Regions from separate parts of the Homo sapiens genome. Here region 2 is linked to region 1. The links are contacts of gene promoters, found by promoter capture Hi-C in blood cells and fetal thymus (Javierre and others, 2016). All regions are on one chromosome and are shown on one strand. The core of a region is centred on a gene start or on the middle of the fragment in contact, and the rest is flanking DNA. Distances in the headings are between cores, read along the strand shown.

Region 1 (7,403 bases), core at 2,463-4,962:
GAGGTCAGGAGTTCGAGACCAGCCTGGCCAAAATGGTGAAACCGTGTCTCTACTAAAAATACAAAAATTAGGCCGGGCACAGTGGCTCACACCTGTAATCCCCACACTTTGGGAGGCCGAGGCAGGTGGATCACCTGAGATTGGGAGCTCAAAATCATCCTGACCAATATGGTGAAACCCCATCTCTACTAAAAATACAAAAATTAGCTGGGTGTGGTGGTGCACGCCTATAATCCCAGCTATTCAGGAGGCTGAGGCAGGAGAATCACTTGAATCCGAGAGGCTGAGGGTGCAGTGAGCCAAGACTGTGCCACTGCACTCCAGCCTGGGCAACAGAGTGAGACTCCATTTAAAAAAAAAAAAAAAATTAGCCAGGCATGGTGGCAGGCACCTATAATCCCAGCTACTCGGGAGGCTGGGGCAGGAGAATCACTTGAATCCGGGAGGCGGACATCGCAGTCAGCTGAGGAACTGTGCCACTGCACTCCAGCCCGGGCGACAGAGTGAGACTCCGTCGCAAACAAAACAAAACCAAAACAAAACAAAAAAAAAATGAATAGAATGAAATAGAAAATCAGCGCATCACACAAAACAAGTTTAAATATTGTCTCATTTGGCTTTTATTTCAGTTATGCTTACATGCATATGTATGTGTGCTGGTTTGTGCTGTAAAACTTTTTTTAAAACCCTCATCTTCTTTGTGATGGTAAAAACTTACCTCTTATTGTGAGCCAAAGTCTGCAAAATACTCTTCTAGAAAATTCTGCCTATACCTGTACAAAGATTGTTCCTAGCAGCTTAATCTAAAGAGTTAAAAATATTAAAAAACCTAATGTTCGGGCTGGGCACAGTGGCTCGCTCATGCTTGTAATCCCAGTACCTTGGGAGGCCGAGGTGGGCGGATCATCTGAGGTCAGGAGTTTGAGACCAGCCTGGCCAAAACAGTGTTTAGTAGAAACACTGTTTCTACTAAAAATACAAAAATTAGCCAGGTGCAGTGGCCGGTACCTGTAATCCCAGCCACTCAGGAGGGTGAGGAAAGAGAATCACTTGAATCTGGGAGGCAGAGGTTGCAGTGAGCCGAGATCGCCCCCCAAAACAAAACCTAATGTTCAATAGGAGGGTGGATAAACTTTAGTAACCTAAGTAATGAGCAATGATGATAACAAAGGCAATAGAGTTACATGGATAAAGCTCAGATTATTGAATACAAAAATTCAGCTGAAGAATGATAGAGTAATATAATTTTAAAATAATACCATATGTACATTTATATATGTACACATATGTATTCTAGTACATATATATATAGTAAAAACTTATATATAGCAATGAAAACTGAATTTGTGGCCGGGCGCACTGGCTCACGCCTGTAATCTCAGCACTTTGGGAGGCCGAGGCGGGAGGATCACAAGGTCAGGAGTTCGAGACCAGCCTGGCCAACATAGTGAAACCCCGTCTCTAGTAAAACACACAAAAAATTAGCCAGGCATGGTGGCAGGCGCCTGTAATCCCAGCTACTTGGGAAGGTGACGCAAGGAGAATTGCTTGAACCCGGGAAGCGGAGGTTGCAGTGAGCTGAGATTGTACCACTGCACTCCAGCCCGGGCGACAGTGCAAGCCTCAGTCTCAAAAAAAAGAAAACTGAATTTGTGAATTTAATTCCCTAATTAAAGAAGTTGAAGAGCACTGGGAAGGGTACAAAAGGGACCTCAATTCTACCTACAATCTATCTTTACGACAACTAACAGATGATGGATGTGCACCCTATCCCCCACATGCTAAATCAAATAGGTGTCTATGGCTACAACCAATTAAAGTTTATGTGCGGGGAAAGAAAAGAAAGTGGGTCACTCCTCCACTATTGAAACAAGCTATGTAAAGCGTTTTCTCATTAGAAGGCAGGTATGACACAAATAGTAATTATACTTATATAGTGTTTATTGTGTACCAAGCAATCCTCTAAAGACTTTATATTTAACCTTTGACTAAATACTCCCAGGAAGTTTTACTTATATTTAACAGATCACAACACTGAAACATGGTAAGGTCATATCACTCTAACTAGTAAGGTGTAGAGCCTGACCCCAAACCTCAGCAGTCCAACTCCAGAGTCCTCACCTTTAACTATTCACTATATAAACCTTTGCTATTATAAGGATGCTTGTACCAAAGGCTAACACAAGAAAATGTATAAACCTGGGCCTCATACTAAAGCTCATTTACCAGGACTGTCAATTTAATGTAAGGATTTGGAGAAATGTAAAAAACAAACTTTTACAATAATACTGATTTTGCTCCTGTAGCTGTTTCAGATTCTAAACCTCCTCCACTCTCCTTTTTGGAATGAAATCTGATAAGCAATAATGTATGCGTGAACGTGCTCTTTAATGTCAAGGATAATACACATTTGAAAAACAAAACATTAAATCCAACTGCAAAAATCTTACCCTTTTACTTCTGGACAGCCTGAACCGTGTCACAGTGCCAAACTGGGAGAAATATGAAAAGATCTGGGTTTCGTCAAGTAGGTTAGGTAGGTGGCGCACATAGACTACTCCAGGAGTAAGTTGTTCTTGTTTTTTTCGCTAAAGACGTAAAGACCAGGTAAATTAAATATATAAATAAGAAAATCACATTGTAACAAAACCCCTAGCCCTCGGCCCAAGAACCTATTCTGCATTTCCACTTACCACAGTAGTAATTAAAGAACTGGCTGTTTAGTGTTTCTCTCCCCACAAAGGCCATGGTCAAGCAGTAGTCAACTATCTTTCCAGCCTGGCATCCCAGCACCCAGTATAATATTAGAGCTCAATAACTATGTCAATCAACGGATAAGCAAGGACATCTTTGAACAAGCCATTTTAGATCTTCTGCCCAGAGAACTCTACATAAACGTAGGCTTCAATTTGGTATGCATATTACTGTTTACTCGCACTTCATCGAAAAATTTTCGATACGCTTGTTAACTCTCACGGTACAGATTAGCCTTTCAACGTCTCAGTCATCATAGCCTTACCTCTGTAACAGGAACTTCTAAGTTTTCCTGTGTATTTTATGCTAAAAACCACAGAAAGTATAAGCGATGTCAGGGGCCCTAGTCAGCAAGTGGAACCTGGCAAATACTCTATTTTAATAACTCCCAGATCACCAACCCGGCATACAAACTTCCCGAATGTGTTAAGTCTGGGGCTCCCATTTTTGGGGGAAACGCGGAAGCGTGACAGCTCTAACCCGGAGATAACCTGTGGTATAGGAGCCTATTCCCTCCAGCTGGTTCTTTCTACTGCTTCTGTCACCCCAATACTTCCCCGTTACCCTCCACATGAAGGCTCCAGGGCCTCAGCGGCCAAACCCCTCCATCATTTACCGAACAGCGTAAACCCTTTCGTCTCGGAAACCGTGGCCTGCAAGCTTAAGAGGTCGGTCCCTGATTCGGTCGAATCCACTTGGGAGACCCTGGAGGTAATGAAGGCGAGCACGAAGGCAAGGGGCGCCCGGGCCGGAAACCGTGCAACCCCAGATACCCTCTAGACCCGGTCCATCGCCCCCGCTCGCAGCCTGGGCCAGGGTGCCTGCTCACCTGGGTTATGCGCTTGCGAACCTGCGCCACCTCCTTTTGAAACTCGACATCTTCCTGCGGATTAAGCGACAGGATTGGCCCAGCCGGGCCAGAAAAAGTCGCCATGCCAAAAGCCGCCGACGCTAACCACGCGGCGCTCCCGGAAACGTCGGGCTCCCAGCTCCCCCGAGGCGGAAGTAGAGGCAGGACAGGGGCGGGGCGAAGCGCTAAGGCGAGGCGAGGCGTGGCGAGGGGCGGGGAGGGCCATGAGTCGGGCGCGGGGTTGGAGCAGGAGTTGCCCGGAGAAGCGGGGGCGGGGCACGGGGTGTGGCGAGGCGCGGGGCGGGGCATAAATTGCGCCAGGGGCGAGGGCGGGGCACGAGGTCGTGCCGAGAGACTGGGAGAGGCGTGAGTCGCGCGGAGGCGCGACATGGGGCGTGACGAGGAGCGGAGGGCGGGGCGTGAGTAGCGCCGAGGCGCGGAGGCGGGGCGCAGGGGCGTGCCGAGGCGCGGCAGCGGGGTCTGGGGCTGGGGCTGGGCCGTGGGGAGCTCCCGCACCCTCGGCTGTCGGGGCGCCGGCTGGCTTCGCTTAAGAGTGCCTGAAACAATTACGTTCACGCCTACTTTCAAAAAAGGTCTAAAATAAATTCCAAAACAGTACCTGTGTCCTTGAGATGCTGCTCTCATTCCTCAATTTGCTTATTATTATTATTATTTTTTTTTGAGACAGAGTTTCGCTTTGGTTGCCCAGGCTGGAGTGCAATGGCGCAATCTCGGCTCACTGCAACTTCCAACTTCCGCCTCCCGGGTTCAAGCGATTCTCCTGCCTCAGTCTTCCGAGTAGCTGATTACAGGCGCCCGCCACCACTCCCAGCTTAATTTGTACGTTACCACTCCCAGCTTAATTTGTATGTTTAGTAGAAACGGGGTTTCACCATGTTGGCCAGGCTGGTCTCGAACTCCTGACCTCAGGTGATCCACCCGCCTCAGCCTCCCAAAGTACTGGGATAACAGGCGTGAGCCACCGCGCCCGGCCCTAATTTGGTTATTCTTTCACTCACTTGTGTGTGAGCTCTCCTGTGTGGCCCCGTCCGTCCGCGGCCCTTGGAGAACTTACAGCCTGAGGGCAGCATGGCTGCTTTAAGAGACCAAAGAGGCTTGTGGGGGAGAGGCACACTGGGTGGCGCCGGAGGGTCCCCCTTAGGAGGTGGCGTTAGCACCGAGGCCTGAAGGCTAAAGAGCGGGGTGTGGAGAACCGAGCGCCTGCCGTCCGCTGGACCGGACAGGCCTGCACAGTGTTCCTAGGTCTAGAAAGAAGGACGCGGCAGTGGGGTTGGAGCCCAGCACAGGAGGGAAGAGCTGCGAGGCGGCAGGCTGGAGCCCCATGACTGTGTGTCAAAGTATGAAACTGGGGTTTTGTAAATGCGAGGGGATGGGCGGGTTTAAAGCGAGGCTGTGGCTGTTTGCATCTTTCTTTTCTTTTTTTTTTTTTGAGACGGAGTCTCGTTCTGTCGTCCAGGCTGGAGTGCAGTGGCGCGATTTTGGCTCACTCACTGCAACCTCCGCCTCCTGGGTTCAAGCAATTCTCCTTCCTCAGCCTCCCGACTAGCTGGGACTACAGGTGCACACCACTACTCCCGGCTAATTTTTGTATTTTTAGTAGAAACGAGGTTTCGCCATTTTGGCCAGGCTGGTCGAGAACCCCTGACCTTAAGTGATCTACCCGCCTCGGCCTCCCAAAGTGCTGGGATTACAGGCGTGAGCCACCGCACCCGGCCTGTTTGTACCTTTCAAATACTATTATACTAGTGAGTAACTGAGTGGAGAGGAAGGGTGGGGAGTGGATTGCCGAGGAAGCAGGGAGGTGAGGCGAGAGCGACAGATCAAGCACAGCTGGTGTCAGGGGATAGCTGCGGCCGTGTTCTGGAAGCCGTGAAGGCGGCCCAGGGTGTGTGTGCCCGAAGAGTGGCCTGTGGGCCTGAGGTGGAGGCCCTGGGAGGGAGTGCCAAGCGAGGCCAGCCCACTTCCTCTGACAGACGTGCCTCCCACGCTCACAGTCTTCGCCTCCTTCACCCCTGCACCCTCCGGCTCAGCGCCACCGTCACCCCCAAGGGGGCATCCCTGACCCTGTAGCAAAGTCAGTTCTTCCAGTTAAGCGCTGTCTTCCCATTGTGTTTTCATGGGTAGGCTGGATTTTCGGGAGTGAGCGAGCAAGAGCAATTTGATTCTTTTTCAGGGCTGCCCCTTTCCATGGGCTTGTTCTTGCTCCCCCCAGGATGAAATCTTGGGGAGAGCTCCGCACTTGTGATTGCTCCTCAGATGTCAGTCAATAGAAGCATGTTCCACGCGTTCAAAATCTAATATCAAATGTCTCCTCTCCCCAGCTCAGTGTCTCTGGCAGAGAAATCCCCAAAGGGGAGCACAGTCCACATCGTCTTTATTCTTGGCTCCACTTTCTCTGTACACCCCAGTTTCTGTTTTTGGGCTTTCCAGGATTAGGACAGGGAAGAGAGGGAGGAGAAAGCAGAAAGGGGCTCCTTGCTGGCAGGTGCCACGTGGCCAGGGAGTTTTAGAGGCTGCAAATGCCAGGTTGCTGGCACCTTGTCTCCAAGCACACTTTTGAGGTGTCCCTCACCTGGCTGCTCATGACTCTACCTGCCTGCCAGCCGAGGTCAGCTCTGTGCCCAGAGGCTCCTCCTGGAAGGGCCTTTCCAAGTGGACTTTATCATCCTGATCCTTTAAGAAGGGCCACATGTTTTGTCTGTCACTGCCATGGGATTGCTGCCAGGCAGGCCTCCTGGCTGGCATCACAGATGTTGGTGTATAAACCAGGTACAATCCCTGTATCCCCCAAATTCCAGAGGATGTAGATAAGTTCACTGGTTCCCTGAAGGTACCATCCGTGTCCTCGTGTGTGTGTGCGTGTGTGTGTGTGTGTGTGTGTGTGAACACTCCCCTCCTTCCTGAAGGTGGAATCTTGACATGTCTCATAGCTACTTAGGGGAGATGAGGATACAGGAAGGAATGACGGCAAGCACTTCTCTATGGAAATCCTTTTTCAGGTATTCCCAGTCACCTCCACCTCTATGAGTTCCTGGTCTTGCCTTACATCCCCCCAGGGGGGTAGTGATCCAAGGCTTCTCAAACTTGAATGAGCATGTGGATTGCCTGCACCAGGCAGGTGCTGATTCAGTAGGTCTGAGGTGGCCCAGGTTCTGTGTTCCTAACAAGCTTCCAGAAGAGGCCGATACTCCATAGACCACACTCCGAAGCAGGAATAGAGATTTGTGGCATTGATTACTGGGTCAGAATTCTGGGACAGAATGTATTCTGTCACCCTCAAAAGATTTGTTCAAGTCCTAATCGCTGGTACATGGGTACATGTGAATGAGACTGTACTTGGAGAGTCTTTGAGGATGGAATCACATTAAGATGAGGTCATGACCGGGCACGGTGGCTCACGCCTGTAATCCCAGCACTTTTGGAGGCTGAGGCGGGCAGATCACTTGAGGTCAAGAGTTCGAGACTAGCCTGGCCAACATGGTGAAACTCTGTCTCTACTAAAAATACAAAAATTAGCCAAGCGTGGTGGCATGTGCCTGTAATCCCAGCTACTCGGGAGGCTGCGGTGGGAGAACCGCTTGAACCTGGGAGGCAGAGGTTGCAGTGAGCCGAGATTGTGCCATTGTACTCCAGCCTGGCGACAGAGCAAGATTCTGTCTCAAAACAAAACAAAACAAAGATGAGGTCCTGTTGGGTTTGCGTTAGCTGTAAACCGTGACTAGTGTCCTATGAGAAGAGAGCATTTTGGGCGTGCACATATGCAGAATGCCATGTGATG
Region 2 (7,403 bases), core at 2,653-5,152, 1.5 Mb before region 1:
TTGGAAAGAGCTCAGCGCGGAATCTAGACACTTGAATCTCATTTTATCTCGCAATGGAGTACTTCGCAGCTGTCACCCCGTGGCGGCTTTTATCTGGTTACCTGGAGGTCGGTACCAGATCTGCAGCTGTTGTTCCCGTGCAGGTTGTGGGAAGCCCAGAGCATGCGTCTGCGGGAAGAGGGAAGGGGGAGGACACGAGAGGACATGCAGTGGGGATGAGCAATAGTGAGGAAGGCGTATGTCTCAGTTACAAGACAGACTTGACTTCACTTCTGGGAGATAACTCTTTGTAAACTATGACAGCAGAAAGATAAGTCCAGCTAATTAAATAATTTAAAATTGAAATTGAGATGCATGGGTTTTTTTCCTAATGTGTTTCCCAAGTAGCTTTGTTCCTGTTGGAAGATGAAAGCTTCTCCTTTAGCAAATGACTTGGGCCTCTGACTTTCTAAGAGAGCAATTCCCAGGAACATCTGGTGAGTGCCTGCTGGCTGGCTGGGCTGTAGGGACCACCTTGAGAGATGGTGATGGGGAAAGAGAAGCCCTCAATACCACACTTAGGGAAAAGTGGTTTTTAAAGTCCCTCGTAAAGTCCTGACTTACCACAGTTTAGTGGCAATGACTTACCACAGTTTAGTGACAATGACTAAACTGAGAAACAGAGTCAAGCGTTTGAATATGTTTGGGAATCAGTAAAGGGCAAGAGCTTTTTTTGGTAGCTGCCTGCAAAAGGCTGCAAGGAAAGGAAGGCTCAGGGCTACTGCTTAGGCGCTCCACGAGGGTTCCCGCGACGCATTGCCCTTACCTGGTGCTTTGCATGAGAACTCAGGAGTCTGAGCTTTTTTTGGATGAGGGGTAGATCCCTCCATCCTAGTGATGTGAATTAAAGATCTTAGGTCCTCCTCTAAAGACCTCCCACAGCCTGGAACTTCAGGTTTTCATCAAGTGCCCAGGACGGAATGGGAATGGAGCTGTAACTAGCCATTTATTCCTGCACGGGAATGAGCCTGTGCAACCCATGCCTGAGAACAGGACCAGACAGCAGGAAGTGAGGCGAGAACCTCTGGGCAGTGAGGGGTGGTGAAACGCAGAGGGGAAAGCTGAGAGAAGGGCCGAGGGCAAGCTCCTCTTGCTGTGGCTGCTTGGAATAGTGTCTGTCCAGAATCATCAGCAGGTGAGAATGGCTGTTCCCCCATCTGTAGATTGGCAGCCTTTTTTCTTTTCTAATTGATGCGGTTACCAAAGATCAAATGCCCCCAGGGATGCCCACAGAAGCTTGCCGGGCCTCTTTCTAATAATACGGTCTATGAATACACTCCTGCCAGCTCATGGAAGCAAGTCTCCACTGCTGGCTGATGTTCTGGGAAATCCATACCCTCCCCCATTTCCTTCCTGGCTTTTGAGTACCCATGTCCCTGGTGTCAAAGCACCTCTAGGGATCTAAACTTCAAACCTTGCCTCTGGTTCCTCTGGGGTTTGGCAGGAAGACTGTTCTGTTTGGTCTTCAGCTCTCTTCAGCTCTCTTGCTCCCTTCCTCCTGCAATCTCTCCAAATCTCTGATCTGAGAGCTGATTACCCTGTCTAGGACCCCACTGTGCGTGGACCCCCGGAACAGCATCCTAACCTCGGTTCCACATCCAACCCTCACAGCCCAATCTCCCCACCACAGCCAGAGTAATGTTTTTTCTTTTTTCTGACAGCTTCTTGCTGTGTCGTCCAGGCTAGGGTGCAGTGGCACGATCTCAGCTCATTGCAACCTCTGCCTCCTGGGCTCAGCCTCCGCCTCCTGGACTCACTCAATCTCCTACCTCAGCCTCCCTGGTAGCTGGCACCAGAGGTGTGCACCACTGTCTGGCTAATTTTTTTATTTTTTATAGAAATGGGGTCTCGCCATGTTGCCCAGGCTGTTCTTGAACTCCTGACCCCAGGAGATTCACCCTCCTTGGCCTCTCAAAGTGCTGGGATTATAGGCATGAGTTACCATGCCTGACCCAGAGTAATCTTTTTAAAACCAAAATCAAAGCATGTCAGCCTCCTGTTTGAACCTTGTGTTAGTCTTTTTTTTTTTTTTTTTTAAGACGGAGTCTTGCTCTGTTGCCCAGGCTGGAGTGCAGTGGCATGATCTTGGCTCACTGCAACTTCTGCCTCCTGGGTTCAAGCAACTCTCTTCTCAGCCTCCCGAGTAGCTGGGATTACAGGCATCTGCCACCACGCCTGGCTAATTTTTTTGTATTTTTAGTAGAGATGGGGTTTCACCATGTTGGCCAGGCTGGTCTCAAACTCCTGACCTCATGATCCACCCACCTTCACCTCCTAAAGTGCTGGAATTACAGGCGTGAGCCACCGCGCCCGTCCGTGTTAGTCCATTTTGTGTTGCTATAAAGAAATACCTGAGACTGGGTAATTGATAAAGAAAAGAGGCTTAATTATTAATTAGCTCATGTTTCTGTAGGCTGTACAGGAGGCATAGCACTGGCATCTGTTCCTGGGGAGGCTTCAGGAAGCTTCCAGTCATGGCGGAAGGCATAGTGGGAGCAGGTGCATCTCATACTGAGAGCGGGGATAAGAATAGGCGGGGAGGTGCCACGCACTCTTAAACAACCAGACCTTGTGTGAACTCAGAGCAAGAACTCACTCATTGCCAAGGAGTAGCACTAAGCCATTCATGAGGGATCTGTCCCTATGATCAAAACAGCCCCCCACCAGGCCCCGCCTCCAACAGTGGGGATTACATTTCAACATGAGATTTGGAGGGGACACACATCCAAACCATATCAAACCTCTTCAGCAGTTTCTACCGCACTAGGAGTAAATTTCAAACTCCTCTGTATAACCGAGAAGCCCCTGCATCATCTGGCTCTTGCCTCCCCTTCCAGCCCTGTGTGACTCACTTTCCCCTGCTCACCATTCCAGGCCTCCTGGCCATTCTCAGCAGTACCAAGCTTTCTTCTGCCTCAGGACTTTGCACAGGCTTATGCCTCTGCCTGAAATACTCTCCTGTCCTTCCTCCTACCCCCATCTTTTGCTAAGATTGATTTTTCTCATCCTTGAGGTCCTAGCTTAAATGTCACTTCCCAAGAGAGATCTTTTTTGACCACCCAGTCTAAAATAATTTGTAATGACATAATTTGTAATTTTTGGGGTGCTTGTCTGTTTACTGGCCTCTTCTCTGTCCTTTTGTGTGAGTTGTTCACCTTGCATCCGTCAGAGCAGGCTAAGCTATGTGCAGTAACAAACAACTCCCACATCGTAGTGTCTTCAAACCATAAGGGCTTATTTCTCAGTCATTCTAAATGTCCATCACAGGTTGGTAGGGGGCCTGTGCTCATTGTAGAAACCCTGGCTGATGGAGCAGTCACATTTCCTAACATTCTCAGTAGCCATACCAAGGACAAGAGAGCTCTGGAGGGTCTTATATTGGCAATTAATTTCTCCAGCCTAGAAATGATTATGTGTCATTTCTGCTCACAAGTGATCGGTTAGAGCTAGTCACATGGCTCCACCCAACTACAGGGCTAGGAAGTTTCCAGTGCTCACAAGAGAGGAGTAGAAATGTTTGTCAGACAGCACTAAAGACTCCCACAGTAATCAATAAATACTTTAGAAGGATGGAGTGTCTAGAATGCTCTTTCCATGGCAGCAGTCGTTTACAGCATCCTTAAGGAGTCCTGCTGGGGATCTTGTATTTCTGCTGCTCAAGCCCCTGGCTCTGCTGGGAGTCAGAGTTCTGGTAGGGAAACTCAGCAGACAAGAGGTCCCCTGAGACCTGGAATGAGCCACCTTAGAGGCAGCTGAGGCTGGTGGCCTCTTGGTTCCCTTCTCCCGTTGGGACACGTTTCCCCTATTGGTGTCCTGTGTGAGACAGCCCCGCCAAAAGGGTCCTGCCACTCCTCTCTGAATATACTGCACAGCTCAGGGTCTGGCATGTCCAGGATCTGAATAGATGATCCTGCTGGAGGAGTCCCAGTAGGACCCCTCCGAGTTCTAGGCAGGCAGAGAATGAAAGCAGCATTTCTCAGAAAGCCCTGTGCATCCTGTTACCAATGCAAAGGAATGGCACTTCAGCACCCCAGAAAAGGTGGGGAAACCTCCTGCATCTGCTGTGGGTCCTAGGGGATGGGGGGCAGGTGGGAACAGTAGAATCCTGGCCTGTGGCCTGATTTCTGACCCTGTTCCCTCAACTATCATACCCTTTTCACTTGGGTAGGCTGCTGCAGCTGCTCTCCTCTCTATACTTGCATTTGACAAAGGGTACCACCACAGCAGGCCCTTTCCACCAGGCTGCACGCGGTCACACTTGATACAGATGGGCTTTGGGAGATAAGGCTGTACCAGATTGGTGATCACACACTTGACTGTACATCGTGGCCTCTGGTGGCAATCACTAATGTAAGCTCACATTCCTGAGGCACTCACCAAGTTCCTAGCACTGTACTGAGAGCTCTATGTGGACTTGCATGTACATCTTCTTACCTATAGCATGGAGGTGCTGCTATTGGGCAGCTGGTGAAACTAAAGCCCACAGAAGTAGTTTCCTAATTAAGTAACTGCTAGTCACAAGGTAGAGCCCTCCTTTAATCCTATGCTTCCAGACTCCAAACCTGTGCACTTAACTGTTACTCCGTAAGAAAAGGTTTGGGTCTGATTCCTCTTCTAGGTTATAAATACTAGGGAGCTTCCTCTTTGAGAAGCCTCCTACCCCATCTCCTTACTGTACCTAGCAAAGTGTCTGTCATACGATTAGCACTCAATAAAAGTTTTAAATGTGAATGAGAATGGTAAAAACAGAATACTTAGTAGGCTAACACTAGGATATTCTTCTGATTGCACTTTTTTGTTAAGTTGGTCACTTAAGACTAAGGTAAAGCTTCTGTGCTTTTTGATATAGATGCTGATGGAGGGACTGGATCTGGTAGATACATAGCAATCTAATCATGGCCCAAAGCCTCCAATATAGTATACACATGCATCCTAACTTACAATGATCAACAATGAAAGAATTAATTACACTGTGCTAGCAGCCATGGATATCACATTGCATAAGAGATAGTTCCCTCCCTTAGAGATAAGAGGCAGACGTTTAAACTGTCAGTTGCGATGGCTTGTGACTCTCATGAGGTCTGCGTAGGGGTCAGCACGGTCACAAAACCTGTGGAGGAGGAGGTGGTTAGGAAGGAAAATCCACCGAGATGAAGCTGTACTGGATACAAAATCACACGTTCCTGGGCTTTGGCAGGGAGCTTGCCCACTGCACTTCCTGCCTCGAGGCTATGGCTGGGGTGGGATTCTGGCCCTTGTAGGCGGCCTGGGTCCAGTCTCCGCCATGCACTCACTAACTCCATTACTGCTAATGGGATGTCATCAGCGAAGCGAGTGGTGGCGGCAGGTGGAGTCCCGCCCCAAGACCCCCGGGCGGCATCCCCATCGCCGCGCTCCAGCACTCTTCGCCACCTCGTAATTTTCTTCTGTTTCTGTATGATCAGGTCTGTCCTTCGCTTTTGCTTTCCATTACTTCGTCCTAGCCCTGGCCTGAATCCCACAACTGGCGCCCCACCTTGTGCACCCGCACCCGCCCTCAATACCGGCGGGCAGCTCCTCCACTGCCGCAGGGTTACCAGCTGCGTGTCCGAGGGGCAGAGAGAGAAACAGAGGGGGACGGGGCAGGCGCGCTGGGCCCGCCCCCCCGTGCCTGGGGCAGCTTCTCATTGGTGAAACCTCCTCCCCGGCCGCCCGCTGCTTGGAAAATCAGCCTCGGATTGGCTGACAGCCCCCCGACGGGCGTGGCTTCCGAGGAGAGGGCAAGAACGGAAGCGAGGGCGCGCTCTCGAGAGGAGGGGTTGCCTAGGCGACGCCGGAGGCGCGCTCGGGGGGTGGGAAAGCGAGCCCGGCAGCTCAATGACAAATCGGTGGAGGACGGCTGGGGTCCGGCCCCGGGAGGGGGCGGGGCGCGTTTAAGAGCTGCGGGCCGGGTGCGGACGGCGGAGGCGGCGGGACTGGTCCCTGGTAAGGGCGCGGCGCCCGCGGGCCCCGGGCGGGGTGGGGCGCGGGCTGGGGAGTGGGGTACGCCGCACGCCCGCAGCCTCTTGCTCCCTCCGTGCCGGGCTGTGGCCGGGCGGCGGCAGGACATGTCGCGCCCCGAGGCCGGCGGAGGGCGACGCCCCGGCAGCGGCCCCGCTCCGCTCCGGGAGGACTCCCTGGGGGAGTCTCGGCTTCCTGGGCTGCCTGGGGCTGAGGAAGTGGGGGCGGCCTCCGCCTCTCCCTTGTAGCCGCGGTTCCTTCCCTATCCCGCAGATGGCTCTGCTTCCACTTCCTGCCGCGGGCCTCCCGCTCGGGACCGTCCACTTCCTCAGTCCTCCGGCCGCGGCTTGGGCAGGGTCAGGGCTGGGAAGTGTTGCAAAAACTTAACTGCCCTCGGAACTTGCACGCGCCGTGAACTGGGCGGTGTTCCTAAAGGGCTTCGGTTTGCTGGTTTTGTTTTGGTCCTGTCTTGCAAATGAGCATAAAGTTGTTTCTCCCCCAGCCTCCTCCCCTTTCCTTTCTGATAGGGGCCAGCGGCGAAGGGGCTTCTAAGGGGAAGCGCCTGGACTGGGCATCGCCGTCCCGGTTCTTGCCGCCTGTGGGAGTGTGAGGTTAACCGTGCTCGGTGCAGGGTTGCGGGGCGCGGAGCTTGCTGCGTCCACACTGCTTGTGTGAGCAGTGTCCTCTCTGTGCTCATTTCCAACGAGAAACGTTGGAACTTTGGTGTTCTTATCAGGTGAGTCTTCGGGAGAGAAGTGCTTGTGCCTGGCGGACTGAATGAATTGGCCGTGGAAGAGACTTGGCTGATTGCTCATCTGGGTTACCTGTGACTCATCTTCAGCCCTTGTAGAACAGTGCACTTTCTGCTCTGTCCTGGTTTCCTAACCTCATTTCTTCTGAAGTTTTGGGGATGGATGGTGGGCATGGAGTATCAGAGGGGATAGTGAATCTTTTAGAGGTGTCAATGACTGATGTTCCAAGCAGAGCCATAAGATTGTTGGATGTCAAAGCTCAGAACCGGTCAAGGCTCAGAATGCTCCTTAAACCTGGAGCAATAGAAGCACAGTATCGAAGTTCCCAGAAATGGGCCGACCATGAAAGGTAGCACTGCATATTGGGAAAAACAGGAGGGGTGAGTTTGAAGACCTGGGTTTGATGCAGGTTCTGAGAGTTTACCGGTGTTGTGATGTGGAGCACGATCTTTCCCCCTCTGAGCTCCAGAGTCAGCAACTGTAGAAGGGTGATGATAGTTATCCTAATTGTTAGGATTAAACGAAATAGGAGCGGGGGAGAAGAAGGCCAGGGAGACATATCCTTTGTGCGTGGCTTTAGTTGTCAGCCGGTCTGCTTTATTCTGACCACATCTGGGGCTTTCCTTCCTTGCC

Evidence for each region. The method cuts DNA at HindIII sites, captures the fragments that hold promoters and counts their contacts. A CHiCAGO score of 5 or more calls a contact.
Region 2: a fragment that was not itself captured here is called in contact with the fragment with the promoter of NIFK in region 1 in 2 of 17 cell types (total CD8 T cells and fetal thymus); the score reaches 8.6 in total CD8 T cells.

Annotation. Positions count from the first base shown.
Region 1 is chr2:121,733,163-121,740,565 of GRCh38, forward strand. NIFK (nucleolar protein interacting with the FHA domain of MKI67) reads right to left here and starts at 3,713. Exons shown (of 7, transcript NM_032390.5): 1 at 3,584-3,713; 2 at 2,451-2,588. The coding sequence starts at 3,688. RefSeq lists an enhancer at 3,600-3,649 and a silencer at 3,750-4,199. The HindIII fragment of the contact is 3,379 bases long and covers 3,413-6,791 here.
Region 2 is chr2:120,246,978-120,254,380 of GRCh38, forward strand. RALB (RAS like proto-oncogene B) reads left to right here and starts at 5,875. Exons shown (of 5, transcript NM_002881.3): 1 at 5,875-6,003. RefSeq lists a silencer at 5,568-6,157 and an enhancer at 6,658-6,927. The HindIII fragment of the contact is 1,925 bases long and covers 2,941-4,865 here.